Linked DNA regions of Homo sapiens: region 2 is linked to region 1. The links are contacts of gene promoters, found by promoter capture Hi-C in human tissues and cell types (Jung and others, 2019). All regions are on one chromosome and are shown on one strand. Each heading gives the region's core, a stretch centred on a gene start or on the middle of the fragment in contact. The rest is flanking DNA. Distances are from core to core; before and after follow the strand shown.

Region 1 (6,241 bases), core at 965-3,464:
AGGAGTGCCAGAACCCGGAGGATGGAAGTGGGGCTGAGGGAGGTAGCTGCCACCCTTGGCCAAGCTGAACTCACAGTGGGGACCCTTGCCCCCGAGACTTTCAAATCACCCCATGGCTGTGCACTGCCTGCACATCAGTTCTTTCACAGTATTGGTTTCCTGAGACTAGCTAGCAGCCACTTCGCTAGGAAATGGCAAAGGGGCTGCATGCTCGCTTCAGGAGAGGCCGGGATGCCGCCTGCCATTCCAGTCCTGGAGCGGCAGGGGTGGGGGAAAGCGGGGCAGGCAGTGTGTGACTCTGGTCTGTAGAGCAGAAGATCAGCTGGCCTGGGAGGGGGGTCTCTGGGTGTCTATGAGCCCAGGAGGCTGTGTGGGACCGAAAGTTCCTACAGGATGGGGAAAGGGCACTCTTCTTTCCCTCCTAGCCCTCACAGGCCCAGCGTGACCCGGCTGACATTATTGGGTGTCTACTGACCCAGGGAGGATCACCTTGGACTTTTAGCTTCAGCTCTGGCACTGACTGGGGACACATGGGCTTGCCTGAGGGGTGGTTCCAAGTCTGTCAGCTCCCTGGGAGCTCATGGGGACCTTGTGGTCTTGCTGCCCACTCTCTTGCCAAGGTTCAGCACAAGTCCTGGAGCACGATTAGTATTTATTGAATGAATGAGGGATGGATGAGGGAGGCTGGAGTGTGACCCTGACCCTGCACATGACAAGGAAGGGGGCGGTGAGGGCTGATACCCCCTTCCAGGCCTGCTGGGACCTCTGGCAGCCTGGAGGTCTCAGAAACATGTGTTGCTGCCTCTGGACACCTGCTCTGCAGCAGCCCTTACCTTCACCTCCTGAATCATCTTCGCCACCTCCACCTTAGTTTTCCCTTTGATTGACCTGCCATTGACACCGGTGATCTCATCGCCAGCTGCCACTGTGCCGTCCAAGGCTGCTGGGGTGTTGTCAAATACCTGTGGGTGCATAAGGAGAGTGGTGGGGGAAGAAAGGGAGGGCTAAGATGGAACCTGGGAAGACACCTGACCACTGCCTGGCTCTGTCTTCCACTCTACCCTCTGCTCTCGTTTTTTGAGAAAGCGTCTCACCACCCGGGCTGGAGTGCAGTGGCGTGATCACAGCTCACTGTGGCACTGAACTCCTGGGCTCCAGCAATTCTCCTGCCTCAAATACATAGTCAAATGATTTCTTTTTTTTGAGTCGGCGTTTCGCTCTTGTTGCCCAGGCTGGAGTGCAATAGCGCCATCTCGCTCACCGCAACCTCCGCCTCCCGGGTTCAAGCAATTCTCCTGCCTCAGCCTCCCGAGTAGCTGGGGTTACAGGCATGCGCTACCACGCCCGGCTAATTTCGTATCTTTAGTAGAGACAGGGTTTCTCCATGTTGGTCAGGCTGGTCTCAAACTCCCGACCTCAGGTGATCCACCTGCTTTGGCCTCCCAAAGTGCTGGGATTACAGGTGTGAGCCACCGTGCCCGGCGGCATCAAATGATTTTTGACAAGGGTGTCAAGAACATTCAATGGGGAAGGACAGTCATTTCAACAATGGTATGTGAAAAATGAAGTTGACACTACTTAACACCACATACAAAAATTAACTCAAGGCCAGGCGCAGTGGCTCACACCTGTAATTCCAACACTCTGGGAGGCCAAGGCAGGCAGATCACCTGAGGTCAGGAATTCGAGAGTAACCTGGCCAACATGGCGAAACCCCATCTCTACTAAAAATACAAAAATTAGCTGGGCATGGTGGCAGGCGCCTGCAGTCCCAGCTACTCAGAAGGCTGAGGCAGGAGAATCGCTTGAACCTGGGAAGTGGAGGTTGTAGTAAGCCGAGATCATGTCACTGCACTCCAGCCTGAGCAACAGAACGAGACTCTGTCTCGAAGATAATAATAATAATAATAATTAACTCAAAATTGTTCAAAGACCTAAATGTAAAAGTTAAAACTATAAAACTCAGAAAAATGCCTAGTCCAAAACCTTCACGACATTGGAGTTTACAGTAATTTCTTGGATGTGACACCTAAGATCCAAGTAACAAAAAATAAACAAATTGAACTTCATAAAAATTTTAAAACTGGTGCATCAAAATACACCATCCAGTCTGGGCAATGTGGCAAAACCTTGTCTCTACAAAAAACACGAAAATTAGCTGGGCATGGTGGTGTACGCCTGTAGTCCCAGCTACTTGGGAGGCTGAGGTGGGAGGATCGCTTGAGCCTGGGAAACAGAGGCTGCAGTGAGCTGAGATCCCGTCACTGTACTCCAGCTTGGGCAACAGAGTGAGACACTGTCTCGAAAAAAAAAAAAAAAAAGAACAGAGAAGAGAAGAAAAGAAAGGCAACCCACAGAATGGGAGAAAATATTTGCAAATCACATTTTTGATAAGGGATTAATATCCAGAATATATGCAGAATTCCTAAAACTCTTTTTTCTTTTTTTCCTCTTAGCCGATTGTGCTTTGTAGAGAATTCTTAAAACTCAACAACAAAAACCAAACAACCTAATTCAAAAATAGACCAAGGGCTGGGCACGGTGGTGCGCACCTGTAATCCCAGCATTTTGGGAAACCGAGGTGGGAAGATCGCCTGGGCAATATGGCAAAACTCTGTCTCTACAAAAAAAATACAAAAATGAGCCAGGCATGGTGGCGCGTGCCTGTAGTCCCAGCTACTCGGGGGTCTGAGGTGGGAGGATCGCTTGAGCCCAGGAGGTTGAGGCTGCAGTGAGCCATGATCGCACCCCTGCACTCCAGCCTGGGCGACAGAGCAAGATCCTGTCTCAAAAAAAAAAAAAGTTAAGATGGTAAATTTTACCACAATAAAAAAATAGAAAAAAGCAGAACAGAGAATACAGAAAGCAGGATGTCATCATCGAGATACATGACAAGAAGGACATGGTGTTCCCGATGACGCCCTCTGAGGATCTGGCACAATAAACAAAAGCCTGTGCCTGCAGCTACCATCACGACTCCTCCCAACACCAGGGACAAAAACAAAGTCCTCAAAGTTCTCACAGATCAGAAATAAAACACATCACAAATAAAGGATCACCAATAAGAATGGCAATAGCCATGTGACAGCAAAGGACAATGTGACAAGGCCATCACACTTCCACACAGGAATTACTGTCAACCTTGACGTTCATTCTTGAATCGAATGAGCCAAAATGTCAACTGAAAGGAATATGGGAACCACAATGACCAAAAAAGACAGACCCGAGGTCTCAAAAAATTGACATCCCACGTGCCCTTTCTCAGAAAGCTACAGGAGGATATTCTCCACGGGAGATCAGGGAGTAAACCAGGAAAGGGACCCCCAAGATGGGGGAATCCAAAGAGAAGGGGCAGGGGCAGGGGGAGGGCACAAGGGGGAGAGACTACAGGGCGGAAAACAGACTGAAGAAAATGGGGCCGGGCATGGTGGCTCACGCCTGTAATCCCAGCACTTTGGGAGGTCGAGGCAGGTGGATCACTTGAAGTCAGGAGTTCGAGACCAGCCTGACCAACATGGTGAAACCCCGTCTCTACTAAAAATACAAGAATTAGCCAGGCGTGGTGGCACGTGCCTGTAATCCCAGCTACTTCGGAGGCTGAGGCAGGGGAATCACTTGAACCCGGGGGCTGGAGGTTGCAGTGAGCCAAGATCACGCCATTGCACTCCAGCCTGGCAACAGAGCAAGACTTAATTTAAAAAAAAAAAAAAAAAGATGGGAAATTGTGGAAAACATACTGAGAAAACAAGGAGAGTGCAAATGAAAAAAACAAAACAGGAAATTACCCCCACCCTCTCAAAACACAAGAACAGGCTGAATTAAGAAAAGAAACATAGATTCCTCAGAAAGTTAAACATAGAGTTGTTTTGACTAGAATGAGGGCTCCGCAAGAGTAGGATCTTTGCTTTCTTATTCTTTTATCCCTAGTGCCTACAACAGAGCCTAGGAGGCATCTGGAAAAGATTTCCCGAACAAAATCTCCGTTGTACTAATATTAATTTAGCCAAAAATAGAAAAATAACTATGTTGGAAAGGTGGGATGAGAGGAAACAGACTGGTCATGGGAAGAACTAAATTCTCATCTACCAGACGAGGCAAAGTCAATAGATATTTACAGGTGATAGATCAAGAAACAACAGGATAGGCTGAGCACGGTGGCTCACGCCTGTAATCCCAGCACTTTGGGAGGCTGAGGCGGGTGGATCACTTGAACCCAAGAGTTTGAGACAAGCCTGGGCAACATGGCAAAACACCGTCTCTACAAAAAATACACAAAAATTAGCCAGGTTTGGTGGCACGTGCCTGTAATCCCAGCTACTTGGAGGCTCAAGTGGGAGAATCATCTGAGTCTGGGGAAATCAAGGCTGCAGTGACCCATGCTTGCACCACTGCACTCCAGCCTGGGCGACAGAGTGAGACTATTGAGAAAAATGGAAGCCCATGCATGAAGAGACAGAGAAAGCCGGGTGAGGTGCCCAGGGGAAGGGCAGTGGATTGCTATTATTTGATACAGGGCTTTTAATGCTCTTGACTTGGTAGAGGCAAGTCATATGGCACTTTGATAAAAACAAAATTGAATTTAAAAAAATCAATTCTATGATGATGATGATTATTATTATTTTTGAGACGGAGTCTCACTCAACTGCCCAGGCTGGAGTGCAATGGCACGATCTCGGCTTACTGCAACCACCATCTCCCGGGTTCAAGCGATTCTCCTGTCTCAGCCTCCCAAGTAGCTGGGATTACAGGAACCCGCCATCATGCCTGGCTAATTTTTGTATTTTAGTAGAGACAGGGTTTCACCATGTTGGCCAAGCTTGTCTGGAAGTTTTCACCTCAGGTGATCTGCCCACCTCAGCCTCCCAAAGTGCTGGGATTACAGGTGTGAGCCACCGCACCCGGCCAGTTCTATTATTTTATTGGCTGGTGGTTCATGCCTGTAATCCTAGCACTTTGGGAGGCTGAGGTGGGTGGATCGCTTGAGGCCAGGAGTTCGAGACCAGGCCGGCCAACATAGCTAAAACCTCTCTCTCCTACAAATACGAAAATTAGCTGGGCATGATGGCGCACACCTGTAATACCAGCTACTCGGGAGGCTGAGGCATGAGAATCGTTTGAATCCAGGAGGCAGAGGTTGCAGTGAGCTGAGATCACGCCACTGCACTCCAGCCTGGGCAACACAGTGAGACTCTGTCTCAAAAAAAAAAAAAAATCAATTATACTATTTTATGATGTCTGTTCATTCTAAGCAAACTTGCACCTGAGGTAGGTAGAGGGAGGTGGCGAGAGGCTGAGCAGACACACGGCCAGGAGGCCAGGCCTGGGGGAGGTCTTGCTAATGCCTCCTGGGTCACAGGAGGCCGAATGGCTCATGAAGGAGGCAGCACTGTGAGCAGAAGCAAGACCAGGTCGATCCTGGGAATCTGTCTTCGAGGCCTACAAGCGACTCCTGAGCAAGATCCTCACAGAGGCCAGTTTCCCATCTGCCACCAGTGAGAGGGTTAGAACAGGTATTCCCAAGGCTACAGCAAGGTCACTGACTTGGATGAGCCACACAGTGAAGGAGGCCCCACAGCAGGCCTGTCACCACTCCTGAGTTACAGTGGACAGAATATCACCAGTGCAGCTTCCTCTGCAAGAGACACAAGAGTGTTCCTCACCACTGGCAGAGCATCTGGGAAAATGTACAGCTACCTGGAAAATAGCAGCAGCTACTGCTTAATGCATGGTTCTTTCTTTTTTTTGAAACAGGGTCTCACTCGGTCACCCAGGCTGGAATGCACGGAATGCAGTGGCGTGATCTCAGCTCACTGCAACCTCTACTTTCCAGGTTCAAGCGATTCTCCTACTTCAGCCTCCCAAGTAGCTGGAAGTACAGGCGTGCACCACCACGCCCAGCTAATTTTTGTATTTTAGTAGAGACGGGGTTTCACCATGTTGGCCAGGCTGGTCTCGAACTCCTGACCTCGTGATCCACCCACCTCGGCCTCCCAAAGTGCTGGGATTACAGGTGTGAGCCACTATGCCTGGCCAATGCACGTTTCTTAACTTCTAGTGTGTTAGGTCGTTTTGTTGACTTCTCACAAGAACCCAGAGATGATTGTGTCTACATGTTTTAAATCCCCGCTTTCTAGGTGATGAAACTGAGGCCCAAAGAGGTTAAGTAACTTGCTAGTAAGTAGGAAAGAAGCTTGCATTTGAACTCAGGCCATTATTTCATCGTGTTCCTATGACACTTCAT
Region 2 (6,455 bases), core at 3,603-6,102, 950 kb before region 1:
ACATGAATGACCCAATTCATAGGATGAAATTTACAAAGGATGTTTCTCAAAACTTCGGGTTTTCAACTTACATATATTCACACCTGTTTAGGTTGAGTTTATTTATCGATTTATTTTCAGGCAGGGTCTCTATCTGTTGCCCAGACCCGAGTTCAGTGGCGCGATCTCTGTTCACTCCAGCCTCCACCTCTCGGGCTCAAGTAATCCTCCCACTTCAGCCTCCCAAGTAGCTTGGACTACAGATGCATGCCACCACATCTGGCTTTTTTTTTTTTTTTTTTTTTTTTTTTGTAGAGATGGGGCTTTGTCATGTGACCCAGCCTGGTCTGGAACTCCTGGGCTCACGCGATTCTCCCACCTTTGCCTCCCAAATTGCTGGGGGATTACAGGCGTGAGTCACCATGCCCAGCCTAGGATGAGTTTAGTAAGATTTGGTTATGCTGGGGAGATGGGAAAAGCCAGGTTAGGGGCACGCAGGCTGGAGGAACGGGGTCTGTGGGGGTGGATGGATAGCCATGGAGGCAGAAAGGAGCCTCTGCAGGAAGAGTCTGGAAGAGCGAGGAGGAAGCGGTGAGGCAGGGGAGCACTGTGGAATGGCCCTGAGGCCAGGAGGGGCTCAGGATGACCAGGCAGAAACAGAGCGGGTCCAGGGTGGAGGGGAGGCCCGTGCAGCATGAGCAGGAGGCTAGAGGAGACAGACCATGAGGCCCAGGGAGACCCCTCACTGGAGACTCTCCCGTAGCCTTCTTTTCAGAAGTCGAAAGTTGGTTTTTAATCCCTTCCAAGGCTTGAATGGCTCATTATCATTGTACACAAAGTTTTCCCAACAATATTTAAAATCTGAGAAAAAACAAGGAGAAAACAGTGAGGGCCCAGCAGGCCTCTCTCCTGGCCCTGGGCCCTCCCCTCCCAGCCCAGGTATCCAGGCTGCCAGTTGCAGTGGGCGCTGGCCCGGTCCCCACAGACACCCAGGGGACACTGACCCGCCCCACAGCATTGGAGAACCATCTGCCCCTCATGCTGTCCCTCCTGCACCCACTCTCCTCAGCCCCCCACGTCTCACCTTCATAGTCCATGATCTCCACAGCGACCCCTTCCTGACTCAGGCTGCGGAGCCCCTCCTGGTAACATGGATACTGGAAGTAGTAGAGGCGGGCGGTGAAGATGGTGAGATTCACGTTGCTGTGCCTGGCCAGGAACTCGGCCACCTCCCCTGCACAGTCTGGGCAAGGGCTCCAAGATGTGTACCAGGTGACCTGGTACTTTGTGTTAGGAGACAGTATGTCGTCGCAGAACCAAGAGAGGAAGCACCTTTCTGCATGACAATGGGTCTCAGAATCCACCTGGCGAAGGAGGAGGAGGAGGACAGGGGAGCTCAGACCAGGAGCAGGAGGAGTGCAGGGGTGGGGCGATGGGAGCAGAGGGCGGGCCTGGAGCCCCGGGCCGTTTCCTTATTTACTCATTTTTGAGACAGGGTCTCTCTCTGGTGCACAGGTTAGGGGGTGCAGTGGTGGGATCTGGGCTGACTGCAGCCTTGACCTCCCAGGCTCAAGGAATCTTCCCACCTCAGCCTCCTGATAAGCTGGGATGCAGGTGCATGCCGCCACACCTGCCTAATTTTTTAAATAATTTTTTTAGAGACGGGGTTTCACCATGTTGCCCAGGCTGATCTTGAACTCTTGGGCTCAAGCGATCCTCCTGCCTCACCCTCCCAAAGCTCTGGGACTATGAGCATAAACCACATGCACAGCCTTATTTTATTTCTTTACTTTTCATTTTTCTGGCTACATAGTAGGCCCCAGGGTGTTTTATTCATTGAGTTTCCCTTCTTCTATCCTTCTCCTTCTCTCTTTATTCTTTTATTTTTATTTTTTTCAAAGATGGAGTCTTGCTCTGTCGCCAAGGCTGGAGTGCAGTGGCACAATCTCGGCTCACTGCAACCTCTGCCTCCCAGGTTCAAGCAATTCTCCTGCCTCAGCCTCCTGAGTAGCTGGGACTACAGGCATGCACCCCCACACCTGGCTAATCTTTGTATTTTTAGTAGAGACTGGGTTTCATCATGTTAGCCAGGCTGGTCTCGAACTCCCAACCTCATGATCCGCCTGCCTCAGCCTCCCAAAGTGCTGGGATTACAGGCATGAGCCACCGCGCCGTGCCCGGCCCCTTCCTTCTTTATTTTATTGATTCTTTCCCTGTCTCATAGACTCATGTGTGAATTCTGCCATCTTTTCTCCCAGGCATCCATTCACCAGGCATCCTCAGCCCCTGCTATGGCCTGGCTCTCTGGGGTCAGCTTTGTTCCCTGCCTGCCTTCTGCTGAGGAATCAGGGCAGTGGCGGGGGCGGCCCCACCAGCCCGCAGTCACTGGCCCAGACACAGCGCTGGACACAACACCCCCCGCTTCCCACAGCTGCTGATTCCCGAGGACTGCCGGACGCACAGCTCCATAACAAGATTTTGGGAAACAAAGTCAAGAGTGAGGGTGCTGGGCGCTAAACAAGGCCTTTTGGGAGGAAGCAAACCCCCTCCACGATCTGATCACAGGAGAGTCAGGGAGGAAGATCTGGGCCATGGACTTAAAAAATGTGGGGAGGCCGGGCACAGTGGCTCATGCCTGTAATCCCAGCACTTTGGGAGGCCAAGGCGGGCGGATCATGAGGTCAGGAGATCGAGACCATCTTGGCTAACACCATGAAACCCCGTCTCTACTAAAAAAAAAAAAAAAAAGAAAAAAAGAAAAAATTAGCTGGGCATGGTGGTGGGCGCCTGTAGTCCCAGCTACTTGGGAGGCTGAGGCAGGAGAATGGCGTGAACCCGGGAGGCGGAGCTTGCAGTGAGCTGAGATTGTGCCACTGCACTCCAGCCTGGGCGATAGAGCAAGACTCCGTCTCAAAATAAATAAATAAATAAATAAATAATGTGGGGAGGAGGCCAGGGGCATGGTGTCTCACGCATGTAATCCTAGCACTTTGGGAGGCCAAGGCTGGTGGATCACTTGAGGTCAGGAGTTCGAAACCAGCCTGGCCAACATGGCAAAATCCTGTTTCTACTAAAAATACAAAAGAATTGGCTGGGCATGGTGGCAGGTGCCTGTAATCCCAGCTACTCGGGAGACTGAGGCAGGAGAATCGCGTGAACCTGGAAAGCAGAGGTTGCCGTGAGCTGAAATCAGACCACTGCATTCCAGCCTGGGTGACAGAGCGAGACTCCATCTCAAAAAAAAAAAAAAAAAAATAGAAATGTGGCAGGAAAGTGCACACAGGAGAGCCCACGCCGGGCACATCACTTATTGTTGCGTTTTCTGCATTCCCAGCTGCTTAGCTCCTATTTAGGGTGTAACTAGGACTTTGGTGCTACCTGGTTTCGGAAGACGCCCGTCTTCCAGGAGACAACTGAGCGGCGCTTTATACCTTCCACGGTGAAGCACAGCCAAGTTTCGTTCCGATCGTTGGCTTCCCATAGGTTTTTAAATTGGAAGTAGAATGTGCCTGGATACATTGCCTTCATCGGGTTTCTGAAGGCACAAGAGAGAAACCCCAATGCAGAGACCCCCGCACCGGAGTCCTCAGGGCTGATGCCCACTGAACACAGCTGCCTGGACGTCCCTGGGCTCTGGGCCTCCCCCATCCCTCCACAGCCCTGAGAATGTCTGCTGCTTTCCCAGGCAGGAAGACGGGGAGAGAGAAAGAGGAGGGGACGCTGGCAGGGGCAGCAGGGCCGGGGTGACCTCTCCTAGCTGGAACCCCAGCTCTGGGGCTACCAATGGAACACCCTCAACCTCCCAGTTTTTCTGCTACTTTTTTTTTTTTTTTTTTAAAGACGGCATCTCGCTCTGTCCCCCAGGCTGGAGTTTGCAATCTCAGCTCACTGCAACCTCCACCCCTCGGGTTCAAGGGATTCTCCTGCCTCAGCCTCCCAAGTAGCTGGGATTACAGACGCCCGCCAGCACCCCTGGCTAATTTTCTGTATTTTCAGTAGAGACGAGGTTTCACCATGTTAGTCAGGCTGGTCTCAAACTCCTGACCACAAGTGACCCGCCCGCCTCAGCCTCCCAAAGTGCTAGGATTACAGGCATAAGCCACCGTGCCTGGCCTAAAATAAGAGCATTTCTCCTGATCATCATATTTTTTCCTACACTCCATGTTGCAGGTGTCATTCTGAAAGGTGAACGGTGCTCACAGAGGAGGAGCCTGTGTCTGGGGTCGTGTGCATCCTACTCTGCTCACAGTGGAGGCATCTTTGGAAGAAGTGACTTATTTTCTGGTACAGAGACCATTCCCTCCCCCACACCCTCTCCTAAGACTTTGTATTGAAACAAAGTAAATCTTACAGAAATTGCACCAAAGCGCTGAGAACAAAATGCCTGATTGCTCAAATCATCCTTTGGTTCAATTCTCCCAGTTCCAGAGCTCCCAGGAATAGTGGGAAGCACACAGAGGAAGCACCCTCCCAGGGCGGGAAGCACCAGCCCGGGCATGATTTTCGGGGGAGAGTCTCAGCAGGCGGACTGGGCTGGGGCAAGTGGGGAAGGTGGCCCATTCAGAAGCAGCAGTCGTGGGACCACACAGCAGGGCAAGGAGCTTGGCTGGGAGTGGGGGCAGCGGGGGAACCAGGGGGGAGGGAGCCCAGAGGTGGGGCTGGGGCAGGGGGAGGCCAGGGCTGAGGCCCAGCAGGACCGCCTGGCAGGAAGTGGCAGGAGGGGCCTGGCGGACAAAGCGTGCAGAGGTACCTGATCTGTGGATTCATGTTCAGCCTCTTAGATATGCTTGTCCCTGTCCCACTCTTTTCTGAAGCGCTGTGGCTTCTCTTCCTGCTTACAGCGTCCTTGCAGTTGAGCAGCCCTCTTTAAAGTGACCTCCCAGGGCCTTGTGAATCATGGCCCCTCCCCATTCCTGCTCAGGCACTGGTGTGGGAGGCCCCGGGGTGCTTCATGTTTCTCTGGCTCTGGCCCTCTTTCTGGTTTTCTCCGGGCCCCTCCTACTGGCAGAGGAACCTCCGATAAAGACAGGCTGCTCTGTCTTTATCTGTCCTGGGCAGGACCCAACGGAACTGCAAAAAGAAGAGAAAGAGAAAGAGAAAGGCATTGCAGCCTGAGCCTGGGACGCGGGTCCAGACCCAGCTGAGAGAGGGGCAGGTGCCCCGTTGCCTGGTGGTTGGGCAGGCTGGAGCCCCCTCTCCACCACCCCCTCCCCAGCCCTAATGTGTGCCCAGAGCTTTGAGCAGCACCACCCTGTTGAGTGAGGGGAGGTTTTGAGACCCCAGTGGGGAAGGAAGTGTGGACTCCGCACAGCACAAGCGAAGGCTTAGGTGTGCCTCGAGTTCCCAGCTGTGTGCTGAGTCCATCGCACGCATCCCCTCTTCCAACCTCCCAGCTTCCAGAAGGTGGGGGGCAGTTCAGCCCCTCAGAGATGTGGGCGGAGGATTACCTAGGTGCTGAGGCAAGAGACTGAAGGCACAAACTGTTTCAGTATAATAAAGAATATACTTACAATAAGAATAGTTATAATACAAATTAGATACAGAGATGATCATGGACATTATCAATCATTAGTGTAGATATTATTAATCATTAGCTTTTAATATTACTCTTTATTGTATTACTAATATAACCAAGAAATAACCGGTGGGTATAGGGTCAGGTGCTGAAGGGCTGTTGTGAGAAGTGACCGAGAATGCAAGAGGTGAGCCCTCTGTCACACCCGCATAAGGGCTACTGGAGGGCTCCTTGGTCAGGCGGTAACGCCAGTGCCTAGGAAGGCATCGTTACTTAGCGGACCACGAAAGGGAGTCTCCCTTTTCTTGGAGGAGTCAGGGAACGCTCAGCTCCACCAGCTTCTTGTGGGAGGCTGGATAGTATCCAGGCCTGCCTGCAGCCATCCGGAGGCCTAAACCCCTCCCTGTGATGCTGTGCTTCAATGGTCACGCTCCTTGTCCACTTTCCTCCTGTACTCCTGGTCCCTCTTTGAAGTTCTCAGAAGATAGCGGTAGAAGAAATAGTGAAAGTCTTAAAGTCTTTGATCTTTCTGATAGGTGCATAGAAGAAAACGCTGACGTATACTGCCTTCCCTCTCTGCTTCGGCTACCTATAAGGGAAGGGCCCCCTGTCCTATGATCACGTGACTTGCTCGACCTTATCAATCACTTGGACGACTCACCCTCCTTACCCTGCCCCCCTTGTCTTGTATGCAATAAATAACAGTGCACGCAACCATTTGGGGCCACTACCCATCTCCGTGTCTTGATGGTAGTGGTCCCCCGGGCCCAGCTGTTTTCGCTTTATCTCTTTGTCTTGTGTCTTTACTTTTTACGATTTCTCATCTCCACACACGGGGAGAACACCCACTAAGCCCCATAGGGCCAGACCCTACATCAGGGACTGCGATGTCTGCGACATCAAGCGGTGGAAGCAAGTGTCTACAAACAGGCTCACGGCCCACAGGGACCTCTCAAGGGGT

What was found. Contacts are between HindIII fragments. The study calls those that stand out against the background at their distance.
Region 2: the fragment with the promoter of APOBEC3C here is called in contact with a fragment that was not itself captured in region 1 in 1 of the 25 tissues and cell types used here (dorsolateral prefrontal cortex).

What each region holds. Positions count from the first base shown.
Region 1 is chr22:38,059,723-38,065,963 of GRCh38, reverse strand. PICK1 (protein interacting with PRKCA 1) reads right to left here. Exons shown (of 13, transcript NM_012407.4): 4 at 834-962. Among named protein-coding and RNA genes, the nearest start is that of PICK1, 5.4 kb to the right of the region's middle. The HindIII fragment of the contact is 9,593 bases long and covers 1-6,241 here.
Region 2 is chr22:39,012,654-39,019,108 of GRCh38, reverse strand. It overlaps APOBEC3C (apolipoprotein B mRNA editing enzyme catalytic subunit 3C), which reads right to left and starts at 4,852. Exons shown (of 4, transcript NM_014508.3): 1 at 4,730-4,852; 2 at 3,358-3,514; 3 at 1,064-1,343; 4 at 1-840. The coding sequence starts at 4,746. The coding sequence ends at 722. RefSeq lists a silencer at 4,562-4,611 and enhancers at 4,722-4,831, 4,404-5,021, 4,751-5,045, 5,022-5,640. The HindIII fragment of the contact is 14,453 bases long and covers 1-6,455 here.